2 separate regions of the Homo sapiens genome follow, and region 1 is linked to region 2. Evidence: promoter capture Hi-C in 16 types of primary human blood cells and fetal thymus (Javierre and others, 2016). All regions are on one chromosome and are shown on one strand. The core of a region is centred on a gene start or on the middle of the fragment in contact, and the rest is flanking DNA. Distances in the headings are between cores, read along the strand shown.

Region 1 (6,030 bases), core at 2,319-4,818, 150 kb before region 2:
CAAAGAGAAGCTCAAGACAACTAGCACCAGCAGAGACTTCCTATGTCGTCTTCAAAGGCCAAGCAAGAGCTGAAATGCGTGGTTTTCTCACCCTGTGATTCAATGTCATTTTATGCCATGACACCACACTTCAGGAAACATAGGCAATCAATGCTGCTAGTTCCTTTTTCTTCTCCTCTCCCCAGAGGTCAAGTTGCCTTAATGAATTGCAGTACTGACTTGCTCCTTGTGGCTTCTTGTCTTTGATGAACGCTGTAGCAGTTGGACATGGCTCTTGAGCTGGGTAACAAGCAGCTCCGTAAATGCCCAGCAATCTATTAAGTGTGTCACGGTCTGCTCTTCACTCTGCACCTCTCCAAGGTGAACAGAAGAGGTGTCAGCTCCAGTTTGTGATGGTGTGTCAAAGCTGTGACAGGTAAATAATTCTTATTTTATCTTATTTTTTGCAGATGTTAACAGGCCATGTAATCAGATGCATCAATCTGATTTTCACAGACAGCAGCCCCTGAGCCAGTCCAAGCCTCAGTCCTGGGGCTGACGATGACCAGGAGCACGGGCTGAACAAGGGAACAGAGCCCCAGAGCTCTCTGGAGCCAGAAATTATGTTTTAGTTGTGGAGATCACAGAGCACTTCAGAGAGATTCCTGCGTGGGGAGCCATCTTGGACACTGACTGCCGAGGGCTTTCTGGCAGGTGACAGCATAGGACATTTGACGAGGACATTCTTACCTCCTTTGTCATTTACCTTGTTATTCTTGATGAGCAGCTGAGTGAGCATAGACTTGGAGCTGCCCATCTTACAAATGGAATATTAAACAGAGGCACTACAGCAAGGCTGCCTGGCAAAGGGACACGTGCGTGAAAAAAAAAAAACAGTGGAAGGTTGAATTATTTCTGGAATTTGATCTGCTAATTCATCAGCAGCTTAGGGAAGGCAAGGTATAACCAGAGTGCTTTGATTCTCTGTGATTGTTCCGGGCTTTGTCCCTCTCTGTGCATCTCTCTAACCCACAGGCTGGCCTCTGCGTGGAACAAGAGTGGTTGCAGGATCCAAAACCATGGGAATGCAGCACACCATCTGGAAGGAGACAGAGCTTTTCTTTCCCAGCTGCTTACCAAAGACGTGGGTGTCACTCAGATTGGACCGACTGGAGGCATCTTTCCACCCCTGAACAAGGACTACAGCCTTAGGCTTATGAAAGCTTCTCCTGGCATTGTAGATGCCACAATTCCAAGCCCCCTCCCCCACACGCACACGTGGGCACGCACACACACACACACACACACACACACACACACTTCACCGTGGGGAAGGGAGCAACAGCATTCGCATGGGAATTACATTTCATTATAATTGAGGTTTTATTTTAATCACCATCATTATCAGCAGCAGCTCACATCCACCCGGAGCGTCTATGCCGGCATTTTACTAGGAGCTTAGCATGGATTCCCTCACTTCACCCTCCCATCAACCGGAGAAATGATTTGCTCAAGGTCCTGTGGCCCATACATGGCTGAGCTGCAATGGGAGTCCAGGTCCCAACTCCAGTGCCTGTTTCTCTGACTGCGGAGCTATGGCTACAGCCATGCAGAGCACGAGAGAGTCTCCACGTAGGTCAGTAGGTACATGTGACTTGGAGTGGCTCATAACAAAAACTCAACTCAAATCAGTTTCAGAGAATAAGATGGGAATGCAAGGGACTCACTGGCTCACGCAAACGAGGGCTCTTGTCCCAGTTGTGCCCAGAATCTCCAAGGAGATGCCTGGGACTCGACCTTTCTCCTTCTGTCAGTTCCTCCTTCCTAGGTGGTGGCTTCAATCTCAGGACCTTCTGTTCACAGAGAGCTCCTCACCTGCCCCCACTAGCTTAGCAACCCTGGCAGAAAGCCATTCAGCATTGCTGACTTTATCCTCATGGGACCCTGTTGGGCAAGGAGCCCAGCCTTACACCAATCACAGAGGCCAAGGGTTTAGAATATGTGAGCTTGCCTGAGCTGGGTGATGTGTGCACCACATGGACTAAGAGTGGAGAAGGGATATTCCCCTGAGATAAAATAGAGGATCACCCTCCAGAAATTGGGGAATGCGTCCCAGACAGAATAGAATCACGGATACCTGCTACGAAAGACTTTGTCTCCCTCGGGAGAGTGTGAGCCTCTTCCTATCCAGTCTGTTTCCCACAAGACAGCAAAGCCAGCAGTCTGTCTGCCACCATCACCTGTCCAGTCCACCCCCTGCCCTGGCTTGTGTCCTTCCTCTTCTCCCACCTTAGCAGATAGTCTGCAGAAAGGGTCAACTCCCAGAAAATGCATAAAACTGATGGAGATTTCCCCCCATCTATGGACAGCATTCTTGCGCCCATTTGCCCATAGTCTTCCCATCTACCTTGTGAGCTTGTTCTCAGGGAAAGCCCTGCTATCAGTCATTCACATGTTAGTTCAATGTTTGCCAAACTTAAATCGTCTAGGGAACCCCTATATGAATCATACCCTACACGCATATCACCAGGACCACATTGTTTACTTCATATTTTTCTTCAAATTATCTCAGCTTTCAAATGAAAATAAATACACTTAAAAATGAAACTTGCCACAAATAGAAAACAATCAAAAAAAGGAATACCATGAAAATCAATGAATATTATTATATTCTGCTGAGGTACTGCAGCTGTCAACACCTCTGGGCCTCTGGTCCATTCTCCCTGTTAAGAAAGAGAAAATGGCAAGAGCCACAGAGGCGGCTGAGCCCCAGTCTGAGACACTCTCTGAGGCTCTCAGGACTGAATGGAACTGAAGAGGAAGAACGAACGTTTACTGTGTGGATGGTTACTTAATGCCAAGTCTCTGAACACCTCCTGGTGGTAAGTGCCCCTCACTCACCAGGGCACCCCTGGTAAGCACCCCAGAAAAGCCATCAAGGACCTCAACCCTTCTCCTGGAATGAACAAGAACCCCCCACAGGGAGTCATTTCTGGTCCAGGAAAAAGATGATGCCCCACACTCTTGGAAGCAAACCAATCAATACCTGCCCTGCAGTTTATGTAACACACACATCTTAGAATCCTTAATGTACACTTACATGAATCCCTTCCCTCCAATCCAGACAGCATCAGCCAAGAACCTCAATGAATTAAAACAGAGAATGGCAAGCTCTCTCGGGGGTTGTTGGCCCCACTCTCCTGTGGCTTCTTCCCAATGACCCCTGCTTATCGAAAAGCGTGGGGACACACAGAGGATGAAGGGTTGCCCCTCTGTTGTCAGAGGGAGAACAGAGGGCAAGACTCTCAGGAAATGGGGTTTCCAAGGCAACAGAGAAAATAAGCGACTTCATGTCCATGCAACAATGTCACCTGGAGCCGTCCCAGAGAGTAAGACAATCTTATCTACTAATGTGGAGAGATGGCCAAGACAAAGCAGAGGGAGAGAAGAGCAACCGTCTGTGGTTTTATCGCAGCAAGCGATGTCTGTCTCCATACCCAGAAATGAGCATGTGCTCTCTCTATGTATAGATCAGATGACATGGAGACATTCATTAGGCAACTACAATGTGCCTTTGCTCCTCTTACCCTCAGAACTTCCTTGAGGGGCAGGCATTATGATTCCCACTTTACATCAGTGGGAATTTGGACTTGGTGAAGTTAGGTTGTTTGCCAGAGTTATAGGCACTGATTCAGGAACCTGCCGTTCTGGTGTTTACAGCCTGCACCCCTGACCATCAGAGGCCAGACTGCTCCCTGCAAGGATGCCAGCATGTGCATGAGAGAAAAGTCTGGAAAATCATACAAAAGCATCAACAGGCCCTATCCTTAGGGGGCGAGATGGCAAAAAATGACCTCTTTTTTTCCTGTTACTCTACTTACTTCTGTGTCATTTGAGCTTGACTTTACATTGGGCATGGATAGGTTTTGTATTAAAAGTGAACCAGGCAAGAACCCTGGGTAAGGCAGGGCTCTACCCTGTCTCTCCCAGTGAGTGTAACAATAAAAGCTGGGCAAAATTGCATGGAGCACTATTTGTGAGCTCTGAAAGTAGACAGTGGCAGGCAAATCCAGAAGAAGACCAGAATGTGAAGTGCCACTGAGTGGGCAGCAGGCTCGCCATTCTTCTCCTTCTGGACCCCCGAGCCTGATACCAGCACAGCCTGAGACCTGGACATGGGCATCAGGACTCAGACAGAGAAATCAGTGGGGAGGCCTCTGGTCTGGCTTGGGGAGTGAGAAAGCAAACTCCTAGGACTCTGAGAGAGTGCAGAAATCCCCACATTTTTCTTTTTTCCATTCTCTCAGCCCCCAAGCAATAATCAGTGGCAGAAATAGGTTCCCACAAGAGCCAAAATTCTGAAGGAGGAGATGCCTCCTTTCTAGTCATTGGAGTTTCAGAAATAGAGGAGAAAGAGTGCAGGGCTGAAAAAATATGTAATGAAATGATGGCCAAAAACTTCCCAAATTTCACAAAAGATATAAGCCTGCAAATTAAGAAGTTCAGCAAACTCCAAAGGTGATAAACCCAAAGAAATCCACACCCAGACTATTTTGTATTCAAATTGTAATCAAATATTTCACTATTTTGTAATCAAAATGGTGAAAATTAAAGTAACTAATAATAATAATCTTGAAACTGACAGGGAAATGCAATCTATTTAACCTGTAGGAGAACAATGATCTGAATGACTACAGATTTCTCATCAGAAAATATGGAGGTCAGAAGGAAATGGCACACCACCTTTGAAGTGCTGAAAGGAAAGGATGTTCAAACCAGGATTTATCCAGAGAAAATACACTTCCAGAATAAAGGCAAAATAAAGATGTTTTCAGATGAAGGAAAACTAAGAGAATTTATTGCCAGCAAACATGTACTTCAAGAAGTACTAAAGGAAGTTCTTCAAAAAGAAGGAAACTTGAAGAATCAGGAATGAAGAAGCAACAGAAATGGTAACAATCTGAGTAAGTATAACAGATTGTTCTCCTCCTGAGGTTTATTTGTTTGTTTGTTTGTTTGTTTGCTTGTTTTGAGACACGGTCTCGCTCTGTCACCCACGCTTGAATGCAGTGGCACCATCATGGCTCACTGCAGCCTCAACCTCCCAGGATCAAATGATCCTTCCACCTCAGCCTCCTAAGTAGCTGGGACTAGAGGTGCATGCCACCACACCGGGATAATTTTTGTATTTTTTGTAGAGATGTGGGTTTCACCATGTTGCCCAGGCTGATCTTGAACTCCTGAGCTCAAGTGATCCACTGGCTTCAGCCTCCCAAAGTGCTGGGATTACAGGCGTGAGCCATGGTGCCCAGCCCAGTTCCCCTCCTGAGTTTTAAAAAATCTGCTGGATGTTGGAAAATAACAATTATAACCTCTGATGGGTCTTCACCCTATGTAGATATCATACATAAGACAAGTATAACATACAGAACATACAGGGGGACAGTGAAGGGACCTACAACATTTTCTGAATTCTGAATACACCACTTGTTCAATAATGACTCACAAAAATTACTCAGTAAATACTTTCTACTGGAATGCACTATGTGTTGTCCCAAGCCCCATGCTCACCAACAGGAATAGGGAGACTTTGATGAAGAGAATGGTCTTGGTCTATGAAGACTCCACGGTCTCTCAGTGACTCAATGGCCAGATCCTACCAGGAAATAAAGCAAGGAACCTCCTGCAATAGGTCCCTTGGAGCTTGGAGGAGAACAGTTTTGCTTCCCCTAAGATATCTTCCCCCACAAGAAAACTAGGAGAGCCCAGAAGGTCACACATACTGCAGGAAGCCTGGGGCCTTTTCATATACTTCAGTCATTTTTGTTTGTTTGGCAAATTGCATTTTATTTTTGAAGACTATTGGTCAGAGAGCCTCCCCATCTCACACATAGATTGATGGATGAGCAAAATATAGAGAGATACAACACAGAGAGAGAAGAGAGAGCAAGCTTCTGTGGGTCATCGTTTACTGCTCTCCTCAGCCAATATCGCTAGCATTGCCCAGTATGATCCTCAGGAGCCCTGGGACCAAACTGTTACACTCACGGC
Region 2 (5,962 bases), core at 514-3,013:
TTTGCACTCTAGGTTATGAAATACTGGGGAAGGGAGACATTGTCTTATGCTTACAGCTTTGTCTTTTCTGCTTATTACAGTAGATATTAGAGACAGGATCACAGGATCACACTACTATAAATACTGTGAATGGATTCCATCTCTCTCTCTCTCTCCCTGTTCACACACAGGTATAATCTTCCTTGGAAATAATATGTTGAAGAAATCTGGAAGGCTAAATAAGGTCAGGTCTTATTACAGCGTTCAATCATTGCATTGCCCAATCATTCATTCATGCAACAAATAATTACAGGAGTACCCAGAAAAATGGCAATGATTATGCACGTCCCTGTTCAGAAGGAGCTTAAACTCTAGGAGGAACGTTCCCATTCAATTTTTCGGCCTTCTCTATCACATCAATCCATTATAAGACTTTCCATATATTCATACATATTACATATTATATATCATCTCTTTATGAAGCATTGTTGACCTATACCACATATTGCTGTTATTCCCCTCTCATTTTGAGTGGCCTATTAAAAGTGCACTGAATGGAAATTGGATACTTCTCTTTCCCGTATCACCTGTCTCTGTAAAATAAAAGAGATGATTATAGAAGATTTTTATTTTCTTCCTGAAACTTTCCTGTATTTTTCCCACATTAATCATGTAAGCCTTTTTAGTTAGCTTACATCCAATGATAAATAAAATCATTCTCTCACATTTCATGAATTATACCACAATCAACAGCCTTGACTCATTTTAGATGCAACGAATGTTCTTGAATCAACCCCCTTTCATTAGTCTGGTTTTCTTTCTGCTTTGTCCCTCTGGACAATAAAAAGGAACCTTCTTAATGGAATGGCTGGCCCCAAACTGCTCTCTGGAAAGTGCACTTGCATCTTTTCTACTTCATTTCACCTGGTATGCTTTACACCAAAGGCTGTGGGGTTTTGTGCTCAAAGCTACCGGGTGAGAGACACGAATGCCTGCAGGGTTCTAAATAGGCAGAAAACAAGCTCCAGGCCTTGCTGGTGTTTCTGGCTTGCTTGGAAACAAAGCTAAAAGTCGGAGATTCTGGCTACAAATATGCTCCCCAAGCGCCAGAGGCTGATTAAGGGCAGCTGCAGAAGTCATCAGCGGGTAATAACTCTTGTTCCCCTGTCTTCCTCTCTGGCGCGGAGTCCAGGAAGACAACAGCAGCACCTCCCCTCCCCACCCTCAAGGGAATCTGCTGGCCATTCGGTGCGGCAAAGCATTCTGGGTGATGTGGACATGACGCTGCTCCTCTACGCAGTGAGGCTCCCTCGGTCTGACCAAGGGTCCAGGTTGCAGTGAACCTGTCCAAAGTGTGGGCTGGCCTCGATGTTTAAAATTAGCCTGAGACCAGCTCCTGGCAAGGCCGGTTTTTGCACCACCGCTCCCCCCATCCACAACCCAGAAATCTAAGGACACGCAGCATGCATTTTCCTTGTCCTCCGTTTGTGCAGACAAAGTCTATGATCGATAGGCGCGCAATCCAGGCAGACGTAAACAGAAATTGATCAGACCTGTTTCGCGACTGCAGCGGACACGTGACGAGGCTGCCAGCCTTCCTTCCTCTCCGGCGCCCGCGCGGGGACGCCCGGCTGCGGCGCGCTGCGGCAGGGGAGCTGGAGGCGGAGGCGCGCAGCTCCGCTGAGCTCCCTGGCTGAGCTGAGGCCGGCGGGGGCCCGCCTGCAGGCGGCGTCACGAGGGGCGGGGCGGAGGCTCGCTAGGAAGTTGCACCCGGTCAAGTTGCAGCCTTGTAAGTAACGCCGCGGACCGGGAAAGTGGGAGGGGCCGCTCCCGGAACGCAGCCTTCTTGTAAGAACCTCCAAGGAAGCAAGAAGAAAAAAGAGGCGCTACCCTGCGCTCCCGGGAGGCCTCTGAAAGCTTCCACTAGAGAAAAACTCCCCACTCTTACAATTTCTTTAACCGCAAGAAGCGGAGGACCTGGACAAGGACTCGAGGAGCAAGGTGGCGAACCAAGGGTAGGGCGCACCGGGCCCGAGAGGTCCCCCGCAGGTTGCAGATACGGTGGACTCTCTGCGGCTTCTGAGCACGGAGGGAGCTGTCGCGGGGTCGGGAGGTCGTCTCTCATCCCTGCCTCATCTTCCGACGGCCGGCGGGGCCATGTCCAGAGGCCCGAGCTCCGCGGTCCTGCCTAGCGCCCTGGGATCCCGGAAGCTCGGCCCCCGGAGCCTCAGCTGCCTGTCGGACCTGGACGGCGGCGTGGCCCTGGAGCCGCGGGCCTGTAGGCCCCCTGGGAGCCCGGGCCGCGCGCCGCCGCCAACGCCAGCGCCGTCGGGCTGCGACCCCCGCCTGCGGCCCATCATCCTGCGGCGGGCGCGCTCACTGCCCAGCTCCCCCGAGCGCCGCCAGAAGGCCGCGGGCGCGCCGGGCGCTGCGTGTCGGCCGGGCTGCAGCCAGAAGCTCCGCGTGCGCTTCGCCGACGCCCTGGGCTTGGAGCTGGCACAGGTCAAGGTGTTCAACGCGGGAGACGACCCGTCCGTGCCGCTGCACGTGCTGTCGCGGCTCGCAATCAACTCGGACCTGTGCTGCAGCAGCCAGGACCTGGAGTTCACCCTGCATTGCCTGGTGCCCGATTTCCCGCCGCCCGTCGAGGCCGCCGACTTTGGCGAGCGCCTGCAGCGGCAGCTCGTGTGCCTGGAGCGTGTCACTTGCTCGGACCTTGGCATCAGCGGTACGGTGCGCGTGTGCAACGTGGCCTTCGAGAAGCAGGTGGCTGTGCGCTACACTTTCTCGGGCTGGCGCAGTACCCACGAGGCGGTGGCGCGGTGGCGCGGGCCCGCAGGCCCCGAGGGCACGGAGGACGTTTTCACCTTCGGCTTTCCAGTACCGCCCTTCCTGCTGGAGCTCGGCTCCCGCGTGCACTTCGCGGTGCGCTACCAAGTGGCGGGTGCCGAGTACTGGGACAACAACGACCACCGAGACTACAGCCTCACATGTCGCAACCACGCGCTGCACATGCCTCGCGGGGAGTGCGAAGAGAGCTGGATCCACTTCATCTGAGCCGCGCGGGGACCGGCCACCTGGAGCCTCCACACCTAAGCTGCGCCTCCTGTCATTTCCCTGCTGGGCTCTCACATCTATCTGGTTGTTCTTCACCACCCTCCAAGTCCTCTGACCTAATTTTCTGCTGCAAGGTCCCCTGGCAGTGGCCCATCCTGTCTTCTACTTGAAACGTCTGAGTCACTTGGTCTAAAAAGTAGCCTCAGGTGGCCAGAAGGCCGAGTTGTGTAATGAGTTGGGGCAGGGTGGTGGGGTAGGTGCATGGGAGGGTGGGCCCTCTGGGGAGGCCCAAGCAGCTTGTTTTGCAAAGGCCCAAGTCCTCCTGCTAGGAAAAGCTTTTGCATGTGTCCTGAATGTGTCTCTGTAAACATAGCTGTTATTTATTATTGTGATGTTGGGACCTTTAGCCCATAGCGGATGCCTCCTCAGGAATATTCTCGATTTAATAAGCTAAAAAAAAAAAGTTCTGTGTTTGTGCCCACAGTAAACAGAATGTACAGTGTGACCCACATCGTGGTCCCTCCAGGCATTCCTGCCCCAGGATAAGGAAAACCTGAGCCCACATCTGATTGCCAACGGCTGTAGCCTTCTAACAGTGGGAAACTATTAATAGGCAAGAAATTTCTGCTTTATCAGTCATCACACAACCATTCCTGGGCATTGAGACTGTCCTGGTTAGGCTGTGTGTCTCCTACATTAACAGCTGGGGAGGAGGGAAAAGCTTCAGACTTTTAAACTAGCAAAACAGTTATTTCTCTGCATTCACAATTCTGATTTCATGTATTTCTCTGTACATGTTTGATCATTATCAGGCCATTCTGTTTAAGTTTGAAACTAAGCATTTTAAGAAGTCTTGCCTCAGTTATTTCAGTTTTCAGGTGACTAGAGAATTTCAGGCAACAGTGCCCTTTGCAATTACCTTTTTGATGATTAAGGTGACTATTTTTATTTCTTGTTAAGCATCAGAAGATGTCAGCATTCATCTTTTGGGAGTCCAGTTACAAGGTGGAACTAGAAGGTGTTTTCAGCAATAGCCAGAGCACTGGAGGAAAAATAATTGACAAATATTTATACTTTTAAATTGTTTTGAACTGTATTTACATACATCATGTTTTATCAGGTACCCACCAACTTTATACTTTCTGCCTTCAGATAGAGTTTCTAACATTTTCTAGTTTGTCAGTTTTAAAATATAAAATTCTTTTATGTTTTTAAACCGTCAACCAAGAAGTCAAGACCACTGTCCCCTGCTGAGTTAGGCAATCACTTAAAACTCCAAAGAACTCCAGGCTGAGGAGTTCTTTTGGTGCTGAACAGTGGTCTGACAACAGGTGCTAGAATTAAGGTGTGGGAAAAAAAAAAAAACAGCCAGGAAGGACAAGATCTCCAATTTGTGAAGCTTATGATACAGCTGAAACCAGTCTGATCAATTTTATGCTACCTGTCACCAAGAAATTAACTCTAAATTTTTGAATGCTTGTTGGCATCTGTCAAATCAATACTGAAAGGATGCATTTCGGCTTTTAACCAGTTTGGTTCTGATCATTGCAACCTCTGTGCTTTTATAATTCAAAGAACAAGGATAGCTTTCTTCGGTATCTTTTAATATAAGAACACTGAATTTTGGCTTGAAATATTGTGACTAAATTGCACAATCTCTGGCTATTAGCACTGTTCACTACATTAACATGCAAGAGAGAGAGAAGCCTTGTTACATTTCCTGCTATTTAACAAACTGTCCAATTAGGTCAGCAAGCCTGTTAGGGCCTTCACTGCTACGCCCCTGGCCCCAAAACAGAGAGCAAGACAGTTGTCCAGAGAATTTAGATATGAGTTAAGAGCTGCCAGATTTATTTTAAGGCATGTAGAGAATCTCATAATCTATGTGAAAGTCACTTGCCAAAAAGGTTTTGGTTATGAAAGTGAATGTTATATATTTAATATTAAGTGAACCTCCCGTGCCTTTTAAAAAATACCAACATTATGAAATTTAAAAGCTTAAATATATTTGCCTAGTTGATAAAGAGGCTGTGGAACAACTGAAGGAGAACTTTCAGACCCTAAAACAGTTATATTACTTAGATGTTAAAATTTTCTAGTGGGCTGTGCAATTGCTGGGTTGTCCCCCCAAACATATTTTAATATGTTATTTAAAATGATTTTACCCAAGCCTAAGTATTAAAGTATATGTGCAAAAACAGTTGTGAGCCATTCTATTATGCTTCAGTATGTTTTTCTTGTGGCCTAATTACAGAAGACCAAGCTTTAGAAACTTCTTGTCTAAATCATTTCACATGCAAGTCTTATCCTTTCTACAACACTGATAAACGTAGAGCCTTGGCAAAAATAAATTTTGTCATTGTGCCTCAGCGTCAGTAGCAGAGTTGTTGTATGTGTCTTTGAGAAAAGGAAATGCAATTTTATATGCCAGGTCAGCATGAGGTATGAAGAAAGCTCTAGGGGAATACAGGGAATGTGATCATTAATGTACTTCTCTTACAACAGTTAATGACACTGTGCAGGCAGTAATGAGTGTCTGTCTGTCTGCCTTCCGGATCGTGACCCTCACCTAAGTACAAAGTCTTGCACATGGGGGAAGAAAACTTACATTTATTTTGTCTTCCCTTATTTGCTTGGCCACAGTGCTAAGTGCTTTAAATATGTGATTTCATTTAATTCTGAATGTTATGCTACCTGGTAGACAATATCCCCTTTTTCTTAGCTGAAAATAAAGCTCAGAGTGGTGTAAGTACAGCCATAGGCCACATAACATTTCACTCAACAGGGTAACTGTATATATGACGTGGATCCATGGAATTATACCAGATTTTTTTCCGTATCTTTTCTGTGTTTAGATACACAAATACCCTTGTGTTACAGTTGTCTACCGTATTCACTGCAGTAACATGCTGTATACAGGTTTGCA

What was found. Contacts are between HindIII fragments. The CHiCAGO score rates a contact against its expected background, and 5 or more counts as called.
Region 1: a contact is called between a fragment that was not itself captured here and the fragment with the promoter of PPP1R3D in region 2, in 1 of 17 cell types (neutrophils). The highest score is 6.4, in neutrophils.

What each region holds. Positions count from the first base shown.
Region 1 is chr20:60,091,583-60,097,612 of GRCh38, reverse strand. The region is part of intron 2 of LOC729296 (a long non-coding RNA gene); the gene reads right to left. Among named protein-coding and RNA genes, the nearest start is that of LINC02910, 39 kb to the right of the region's middle. The HindIII fragment of the contact is 4,728 bases long and covers 1,205-5,932 here.
Region 2 is chr20:59,936,106-59,942,067 of GRCh38, reverse strand. PPP1R3D (protein phosphatase 1 regulatory subunit 3D) reads left to right here and starts at 1,763. Exons shown (of 1, transcript NM_006242.4): 1 at 1,763-5,405. The coding sequence starts at 2,137. The coding sequence ends at 3,036. FAM217B (family with sequence similarity 217 member B) reads right to left here and starts at 1,679. Exons shown (of 4, transcript NM_022106.3): 1 at 1,533-1,679. RefSeq lists silencers at 1,442-1,821, 2,172-2,301 and an enhancer at 1,580-1,874. The HindIII fragment of the contact is 3,202 bases long and covers 1-1,898 here.